Linked DNA regions of Homo sapiens: region 2 is linked to region 1. Evidence: promoter capture Hi-C in human tissues and cell types (Jung and others, 2019). All regions are on one chromosome and are shown on one strand. Each heading gives the region's core, a stretch centred on a gene start or on the middle of the fragment in contact. The rest is flanking DNA. Distances are from core to core; before and after follow the strand shown.

The links. Contacts are between HindIII fragments. The study calls those that stand out against the background at their distance.
Region 2: a contact is called between a fragment that was not itself captured here and the fragment with the promoter of PHF2 in region 1, in 1 of the 25 tissues and cell types used here (spleen).

The regions. Positions count from the first base shown.
Region 1 is chr9:93,573,891-93,578,686 of GRCh38, forward strand. It overlaps PHF2 (PHD finger protein 2), which reads left to right and starts at 2,694. Exons shown (of 22, transcript NM_005392.4): 1 at 2,694-2,981. The coding sequence starts at 2,884. RefSeq lists enhancers at 1,001-1,596, 1,597-2,191, 1,873-2,152, 4,334-4,483 and silencers at 2,253-2,312, 2,423-2,722, 3,313-3,472. The HindIII fragment of the contact is 6,548 bases long and covers 1,558-4,796 here.
Region 2 is chr9:93,427,335-93,432,130 of GRCh38, forward strand. It overlaps LOC107987097 (a long non-coding RNA gene), which reads right to left. Exons shown (of 2, transcript XR_007061670.1): 2 at 4,077-4,796. Among named protein-coding and RNA genes, the nearest start is that of FAM120A, 22 kb to the right of the region's middle. The HindIII fragment of the contact is 9,352 bases long and covers 1-4,796 here.

The DNA of each region.
Region 1 (4,796 bases), core at 1,444-3,943:
AGCTGTGGTGGCACATGCCTGTAATCCCAGCTACTCGGGAGGCTGAGGCAGGAGAATCACTTGAACCCGGGAGGCGGAGGTTGCAGTGAGCCGAGATCGTGCCACTGCACTCCAGCCTGGGCAACAAGAGTGAAACTCCATTTCAAAAAAAAAAAAAAAAAAAGAAAAAGAAAAAACAAAAAGAAAGGGGAAGCCATAGGGAGAAGCCAAACAGAGGGAGCTTGTGGGCTTCTGATGACACTTGTTTTATCCCATAGATGGCAGGCAGCCATGGAAGGGCTTTGAACAAAAGGAATGTATCTGGTGGGCACAGGAGACCATCTGAAGGGCAGGGCTGGGAGGTGGGTGGGGTGGACACCCCGAACGACTAGCAGGGAGGCCGAGCTTCTCCAGACACATTCTGTGCGGTGGCTGCGGGGCAGGGAGCACAGGCCCAAGACTTGGAGACCAGCTGAGGGCTCCTCACTGGCTCCCACCCTCTGCCCTCTCACCAGGGAGCTGACATCCTCTGTCTGGCTGGATGTTTAATTGCTTAGCGCCTCAGTTTTCACTTCTGTGAAATGGCACTAATACCAATACCTAAAGGCACCAAAGGAGAGTCCTGAGTATGTAGTAATTGCCATCATGACCCAGGAATTTGCTAAGCGCTTACAAACATCTGGTTAGGTACTGGTAAAACCTCGTGAAGAACTGAGCCCAGGGCACTGTCCTGGTAAAAGCATTTGCTAAATGTTGGCTAACTACTGTCACTGTTTGTAAACAGGCTAATAGGAGTGTTAAGGGATGGGGGGATGCCCACATCAGGGCAGCCTCCCCTGCATCACAGCAGCCTCTAGAAGTTTCCAGCTTCATTTGGGCACTGCTCACCTGACTACTTTAGTACTGCTGTAAGGGTGAGGGAGAGTGTATCTATCAAGGAAGTGGGCACCACTCACCTGAAACCCGCCTTTTGGGCTCTCAACCTTCAGGCTGAGCATTCTATCTACATAATAGTAGACAATGGCTTAAGAGTTACTTCTTTCCCAGAACTTCAGTATGTAAAAAAAAAAAAAAAAAAAAAATTCCAGGCTTTCACCCAGGAGGAAGGGAACCAGTGACAACCGGAATTCAGGTAGGAAGGCCTATTGCAGGCCATCCTGGCCAGTCCAGAGGTGTGGGAGCTGGGGGTCTCCTGCTCTTTCCTCTCCCTCTATGGCCAGCTACTTCTCCCCCCGCCCCCTTCCCCAGTGCCCAGTGCTTTGGGCACTGCCCTGAGTCTGTATCCACGGGGTCACTTGTTGGGGGTGGGTGGCTGACTCTGAGGGTAGATTTTGGCTCAGTAGGAGGAAGGACCTTAATTGAGCCGCCTGCGGTGGAGCAAACGGCCCCTTGGCAGCTGCAGGTGGGCGGTGATGGTGAGGGGCTGAGGGGCTAAGGAGCCTTGTCATGGATGCTGCTAGGAGACTGAGCCAGGTTTCCTGTCCGGAGATTCTGGAATTCCGAGCAGGGGTGGCCCACATTTCCCAGCACGATGCGGATTTTGCTGAGGGAGGATGGGGAGAGAAAGAGGGTGAGGGAGGAAGGGCGGGCAGGGATGTGGCCCCTGCCCAGCGCGGATGCCCCAAGGATGCAGCGCTGGCGAGGCAGGGAAGTCCTCCTCTAGAACGCGTGCAAGTGACCCCTCAGAGCGCACCTCCGCTTCTCCTCCCCACCGTGGGGGCTCAGTTCCCTGGACACGGGGGCCAGGGTTCCCATACTCCTCGCCCCTTAGGTCACGGGCCTGGGGGGCTCAAATGCCAGGGAGCTCTCTCTTGACAGAGCTGACCAGCCCGGCCCCTTAGGTCACGGGCCTGGGGGGCTCAAATGCCAGGGAACAGAGCTGACCAGCCCGTGCCAGCGCACTCCCGGCCCGGGCTTCTGTCCTCTTCCTCTGGGGCTGAGCATCAGGGAAGTCCGCGGGATCCTGCGAGGGAGGCGGCAGTCCCCAGCCGAAAATGAGGGGAAAGAGGAAGTGGTGTCCCAACCAGAAACTCAGTGGGGAACGGAGGGAGGCAGCGCGGCCGAGGAGGAGGAACACCCCCACCGTGGTGGGGGTCAGAAGAAAGTTAGGGCCAAGTATTTGCTTGTCGGCCTTCTAGACTAGGAAGGCTCTCCTGCGGGCTCCACTCCCGCACCCCGCGTCTCTCCTTCTGCCTTGCCCGGGTTCCCCCAACTTATCTTATCCTCGGGGTCCCGCCCACCTTCTCCCCGGGGTCCCACCCCACTTTCAGTCTCAAGGCTCCCCCAGCTCACCTTCGCGCCCGCGGACCCCTGGGTCTACCTTCAGCCTTGGGGGCCCTTCTCGGCCTATCTTCCACCTTCGAGATCCCCCCACCCGCCTTCTCCCCCGGCAGGGTCCCCCCGGCCGTCTTCTCCCCCGGCAGGGTCCCCCAACCCACCTTCTCCCCCGCAGGGTTCCCCAGCCCGCCTTCCCGGCGGCGGGAGCGGCGGCCCAGGCCGGCGGGCGGAGGCGGCGCCACCCGGGGCGCTGACGTAGAGGCCGCTCGGCGGCCGGGGGTCCCTTCGGTGGGGCCGCGGCTCCCCGCCCGCCGCCCCCGCGCGTCCATTCCCTTTTGTGTCCCGCGCGCGGCCCGTCCCCCGCGCACACTAGCGCCCTGAGCCCCGCGGGCCGGCGGGCGGCTCCCGGCGCGGCCCCTCCAGCCAGCGCGCCCGGCATTGTGTGGACGCGCCTGGCCGGGAGCGCGCGCGGGGGCTGTCGTGCGCCCCCGTCCCCGTCCCCTCCCGGCCGCGGCGCCGCCTGCGCCCCGCCGCCCCCGCCGCCCCCGCGCGGCCCGGCCCCCGGCCCGGCCCGGACCGACCCGGGCAGCGCAGCGGCGGGGCCGAGCGGCGGCGCGGCGCGGCAACATGGCGACGGTGCCCGTGTACTGCGTCTGCCGGCTCCCCTACGACGTTACCCGCTTCATGATCGAGTGCGACGCCTGCAAGGACTGGTTCCACGGCAGGTGAGCGCGCGGCGGCTGCTCGGCTCGGCCCGGCCCGGCCCGGCCACCTTGCCCGACCGAGCCCCGCGCCCCCGGCTGCGCGCCCGCAGGCCCGGCTCGGGGACGGGCCGCCGCCGCCGCCGCCGCATTCCGGGCGCCCCGGTCGGGGCTGGGCCGTGCCGGGCCGCGCGCCCTTTTGTGCCCAGGGCGGGGGCGCCAAGCACGGGGCCCGCGCTGGGCGCCCCTGGCCGCCGCGCACAAAGCGAGGCCCGCGGGCCGGGAGGTGGGCTCGGGGCTCGGGGCGCGGGGAAGTTGGGGCTCCAGGCCCGGGCCGGGCCGCCTGTCAGCTGGGTCGCGGCGGCCGCAGAGGCCGGGCATCCGGAGGGAGGCCGAGGCCCGGAGCCCCCGCCGCCTCCCCCCTGCGAAGTTGCAGGAACTTTCCCCGCGCGGGCTCGGGGTTGGCCGGGCCGGGAGAAGCGGGCGCGCAGCCCGGCGCGGGTCCCGGGAGAGGCGCGAGTGGCGGGCTCCGACTCCGGCAGGGCTGGGGAGTCCGTGGGGGCTCCGGCGAGGTGGCAGCCGGCGCGCCCACCCTCCGCCGTGGCCGGCGAGCTCCCTTGGACCTTGTCCCCGAGGGCAGGACCCCTCCCGGACCCCCGCGGAGCAGCTAGACCCGGCAGGCCTGCAGGTCCGCGGGCAGGAGTGCGGTGACAGAATAGTGTCTGTGAGTTGGGTAAGGGGGGTTTGTTGTGGCTTTGCCACCTCCTCCCTGGCCTTCAGTTTTCCCCGTTTCTCTCCTCTCCGTTCCCGGCAGGAACGCCGGTTTTGACATGATCTTATGCTCCCTAAGGAAGATGGGGAGGGGGGAAGGAGGTAACGCTTGGAGACACTGAAAACCCCCGCCCTCTTGGCCCTTGCCGATGGCCATGACCTGGCCCCATGCCTAGGGCAGGTCCCTTCCCACCAAGAAGTAAATGGAGGAGGAGGAAGAGGAGGTGACAGTGTTGCCCAAACTGCTCCAACAGGTTCTCTTGCATCTGACTTTGCCTGTGGGATGTGTTTGGACCCGGGGCTGGCCAGGGCTGTATGCCCTCTGGGGCTCCAGTCCCAAACCACCGGCAGCAAGCAGCCGGGGGAAAGAGAGGGGTGTGTGGTGGTGGGTGGTCCGGGATTCTCCTTCCAGAGAGGAGATCCTCCTGCAGGTTCTAAGACTGGGTCTTCAAGACTGGTCAGTGGTGCTTAAGAGTGGGCTGTGGCCCCAAGTCCAGTCCTGCCAGTTTACATGTGGGGACCTGGGTGGCTGGGATGTGACAGGGCCTGCTATGTCTGTCAGCCCCAGTCCTGAGTCCTACCTCCCTGCTGTTAGAAGGGCCTGGGACTCTGTGGGGTGGGGATGCCCACGGAAATCTGGGCTGCCTTCCTGGGTATGCCCAGGGCTGTGGAAGCCCCTTAGAGCAAGGGAGACTGAGTGTGAACACCGGGCTCTGCCCAGAACAGGGCTGACATGCACACCCTCAACTGGCAGCCGTTGAGAAGTTCATGGCCGGGCCAAAGTGAGTGAGAGCCTCTAAGGCTCCTCATATCCAGGGATGCTGAGCTGCTGGCCCTGAAAAGCCCTGAAAGTGGTGGGGCCTCTGCCTTCTCCCCCATCTCCACCGGAGCCCTGACCTGGCGAGCGCAGTCACTCTGCTACAGAACCTTCTGGGCACCTGTGTCAGCTCCTGGCTGCTGCCCACACTCGGGGCCCAGAGTAGGGAGAGTGAGAGAACGCGAGAAGACCTTTGTCTCGCTGCTTAGGGGACCCTCTGGGAAGGGAAGGCTAGTTCTGAACTAGACTTC
Region 2 (4,796 bases), core at 1,510-4,009, 150 kb before region 1:
ATTTGGGCAGGGGAGAGGGAAGAACAAACAAGCAAAATATATACTATTATAACAAATAAGCAAAATATTTGATCCCACATGTGATCACTGCTGTGGAGCAAAAGAAGAAAGGGTGTAGGAAGCATGAGTTAGGATTTTTGATAGGGTAGACAAGGAGGGCCTCATTGAGAAAGCAACATTTTAGCAAAGATCTGAAGGAGAGGAGAAGTTATGTCACTTGGCTATTTGGAAAAATACCAGATAAGAGGATCTTACAGCAGGACCATGCCTAGCCAAATCCAGAAATAGTAATGTGGCCAATGTAGTTGGAACAAAGTAAGAAGAATGGCAGATGAGGTTGAAGCGATTCAGCCGACAAAAGTGGCTAGTCTACTTACTATGATCTGAACATTAATACTAATGAAGATAAAGTTTTATGGGTCATGTGTCCAGGTCACTGAAATCTCTGTGCTTATCTCTACTTGATATATTTGGCTCATTTCAACTCTGAGATCATCCTGTCCATAAAGAGAGCAAGAGCTTACCCAGTCAGCATTAGGTCAGTCTTGCTTCTCATTCAACTCTGATGTTGAAATCTGGTTCTGATAAACAGAGTTAGGCTTTGTCCAGTTGTGCACAGGCCCCAGCACTGCAGTCCACATCTAATAACTAGACCACTAGCTTTGGTATCACAAGGAGGACCCTGTCTGATGTCCTTCCTATTACCACAGTTCCTCCAGGACTGGAACTGTGCTTTCAGAGAAGTGAGCCCTGACTCTGGCCCCACACTGGGCCACTGCTTTCTGCGTCCAATTCCCTGCAGGATCAGACACCACTGGGCTCCATGGACCTCCTGCTACTGCCCCCTGCTGGGTCCTTGCCTGTGCTGGCTCTGATCCTACGCAACTGTTTGCCTTCTGCGTTCTTGTACCCCCTGATTTGACCCATCCCATCATCAACCAGGTTGCCAACTGTTTTTAATCACCCTAAGTTTTAAATTGTTTTTACTGCAAGAATTTCAGTTTTATTTGGTGGTAAAAGAATTTTTTAAAGTCAATAAAGTATTAATCAGAGAAATTGGAACAATGACCGGATATTATGTTAGGTATGATAATGGTAGTGCAGTTATGCCTTTAAAAGAGTCTTTATTTAAGAGAGTCCTTAGAGCTCATACTGAAATATTTGTGGGTGAAAATTATATGATGCCTGAAATTTGCTTTAAAAACATCCAGTGTAGGAGGGGAAGGGGACACAGATAAATCCCAATTGGCCATAAGTCGATAATTACTAAGCTGGGTGACAGGTACGTGGAAATGACTTACACTAGACTCTTTACTTTTATACATTAACATTTTACTTTTACTTTTATACATTAACATTTAAAAATAAATAAGTAAAAGGATTCGTACATTGGCTAACTAGGTGCAAAAAATGAAGTTAGATAGACCATACCTACAGTAAATTCCAGATCAATTAATCAATATGAGTGACACCAGGGAAGAACCAGAGGAAAATATAGGTAAATGTTTACCTGATCTCAAGGTGAAAAATATCCCTTCAAGAATAAAAGGAAAAAAAAAAACTATAGAGGAAAAACTTAGTTGATATGATTATATAAAAATTAAGAAAGGTTCTACATTAAAAACAAAAAAAAATCCTTTTAACAGGATAGCAACAAACTGGGAAAGATAGTTAAAACATATTATATAAGGTAAGCATTATTATACTTGATGTAAAAAGAGCTTTTTTGAAATAGGAGAATAACACCTCAATATAAAAAGTGTCAAAAGACATGAATGGGAAATTTACTTAAAAATACACATATGTGGCCAAAAAGATTAAAACCTCAATCTCAGCCAGGCACAGTGGCTCATGCCTGTAATGCCCACAGTGTGGGAGGCCAAGAAGAGAGGATCACTTGAGGCCAGGGGTTCAAGAGCAGCCTGGGCAATATAGCAAGACCCCATCTGTACAGAAAAAAATTAGCCAGGCATGGTAGCTAAAAATAAAAAAATTAGCCATGCCTGCAGTCTCAGCTACCTGAGAGGCTAAGGTGGGAGGATGGCTTGAGTCCAGGAGTTTGAGGCTACAGTCAGCTATAATCATGCCACTGCACTCTAGCCTGGGCAAGAGTGAGACCCCATCTCAAAAACAAAACTAAAGTAAACTAAACAACAACAACAAAAACCCTCAATCTCAATAAAAATAAGAGCTACCATTTTCGATCCATCAGCTGTGCAAATTTTTGAAAATGAAAACACTTGGCATACGTAGAGCAGAAAACAGGCACACCCGTTCATCGTATTAGGGTGGTGACATGATGCCACCTTTCCTGGGAGGAATCTGGCAATGGGCATCAAAGGACTAAGATAAGAATAGTTAGAGTCTTTGACCTGACAATTCTAATTTGGAAATTTATCCTTAGGGAATGAGTAGACAGAAATATATTGATGCTCAGTGATGTTTGTTACAATGTTATTTATAATAATAACACACTGTAATCTCAGCACTTTGGGAGGCCAAGGAGGGGGAATTGCTTGAGCTCAGGAGTTTGAGACCAGTCTGGGCAACATGGTAGAGCTCCATCTCTACTTAAAAAAAAAAAAAAAAAATTCAACTGGGTGTGGTGGTGCACGCCTGTGGTCCCAGCTACTCTTGAGGCTGAGGTGGGAGGATTGCTTGAGACTGGAAGGCAGAGACTGCAGTGAGCCAGATCACACCACTGTATTCCAGCCTGAGTAACAGAGCAAGACCCTGTCTCAAAAAGCAACAATAATAATAAAACACTGAAAACAAATGGAAACATCCAAAATAATGATTTGGTTCATTCACAGCATATGGTACAGCTCATTCACAAGACAGAATACTATATAGCCACAACACACGCTACAACTAATGTATATTATACTCAAAATGAAAGCATGAGTGCCTTCCCATATCCTGGAATATTTGTTGAAAACATGATTTCATGGCTACTACATATTCTCTCTAGAATTCACACTTATAAACACTCATAGGTTAATACGTATCTCAAAATGTTATTGGTGGTTGCTGCTGAATAGTAGGGCTCAGCATGCTGATTCCCTTTATCATACTTTTCTGGATTTTACAAAATTTTGACAATGAGCTTATATTGCTTTAAAATCAGAAAAATAAGGCAATAATAGACTCAAAACAATTACAAAATCAGAAAAATGAATGACACTAAAGAAATTTAGACTTGGGGAAAGATGCCAAAAAGGATCTGGCATACTCTGTGGACTCCCTCATGTGATCCATGATGAATTCAAAGCACATGGGGATGGGCACATCCAGGGTCGCATAGTCAATCAGGCAACAGCCCAGCCCAGCCTCTGACTCCAGGATCTTGTCAGCGCCTGCCCCTCTCAGAGGTGTCTTTGTGGACACATGTGGTACTCAGTGGTTTGACACATGCAGGCTGATCAAGGAATGCATCTGGTAAACTGCTAGGTTAAGAACCTAACAGATCCTTGGCTGGGCATGGTGGCTCACGCCTGTAATCCCAGTACTTTCGGAGGCCGAGGTGGGCAGATCACCTGAGATCAGGAGATCAAGACCAGCCTGACCAACATGGTGAAACCCCGTCTCTACACAAAACACAAAAAATTAGCCAGGTATGGTGGCACGTGCCTGTAGTCCCAGCTACTTGGGAGGCTAAGGCAGGAGAATTGCTTCAACCCGGGAGGCGGAGGTTACAGTGAGCCAAGACCACGCCATTGCACTCCAGGCTGGGAGACAGAGCAAGACTCTATCTCAAAAAAAAAAAAAAAAAGAACCTAACAGATCCTGTACTTTCTTCTCAAAAGCTTGATGGATATCATGAGGCAAGTGAAGCACTAGAAGCAAAAGTATACTTTACTGACATCTACATACATTATTATTAGACCTGTGATGCTTTTCACACTTGCTGCATTATATATAAGCCTGCTGGTTATTTACATTTAAAAAAATCCCCCACAGTGCCGCACATAGTACTATGGATATAATGATGTCTAATAGAGCCTTTTGCTGTTGCTGTTTTTTGTGCTTGCTTTTGTTGTTGTTTTTTCTAAAAATAAAAACAAAAACAAGAAAACTGTAACTATAATATTTATCATTTTAATTGATGTGTATAGTTTTACAAAATCAAATAGTAATAGAAACAAAATAGCATCCCTTGTGCCTCCCCTCCCTATTGCTCCCTGGTCTTATACAGTCATAAGAAGTCACAAGAAACCACGTACAAATTGTTAAGCCATTTCTTCTGCCATTTACCTTCCAATTCCTAAGGAGTATGCATGTGCTGTTATTTATTTTAGACATTATCTTTTTTCTCCCTGTCTTGACAGATGTTATCTAACTCAAGTGCACTTTGCTCTCCCTCCCCCATTCCCCTGGTGTAAGCATACCACACAGTCTTTGAGTTCACATTATTATTTGTGTCATATAGATACTGTTCACATGAGCCAGGAAGAGTACAACTTTTTTCTTAAATTATCACCTCTCAAAAAATAACTTTGTTGTCTACATACGTGTCTTCCAATGAGCCAGAAGACTCCCTATGTCAGCAAATCCACTGGTGCCATGACTTCCCACTGAGCCCCCTGACTTCCTGTTCTGCACGGGCTTGTCTGCTTCCTGGACCTGCTGCACAACTTGCTCCGAGTCCTATACTGGACATCCTGCTTTTAAATCCCATGCCTTCCATGCCATTGGTTTACAAGTTTATTTCCTGGGGTACTTCCTTCAGGAACGTTCAAGGAGACAGCAAAGAAGGTAAACTTTTGTGTGCTTGCATGTCTCTAACTGTCTTTCAG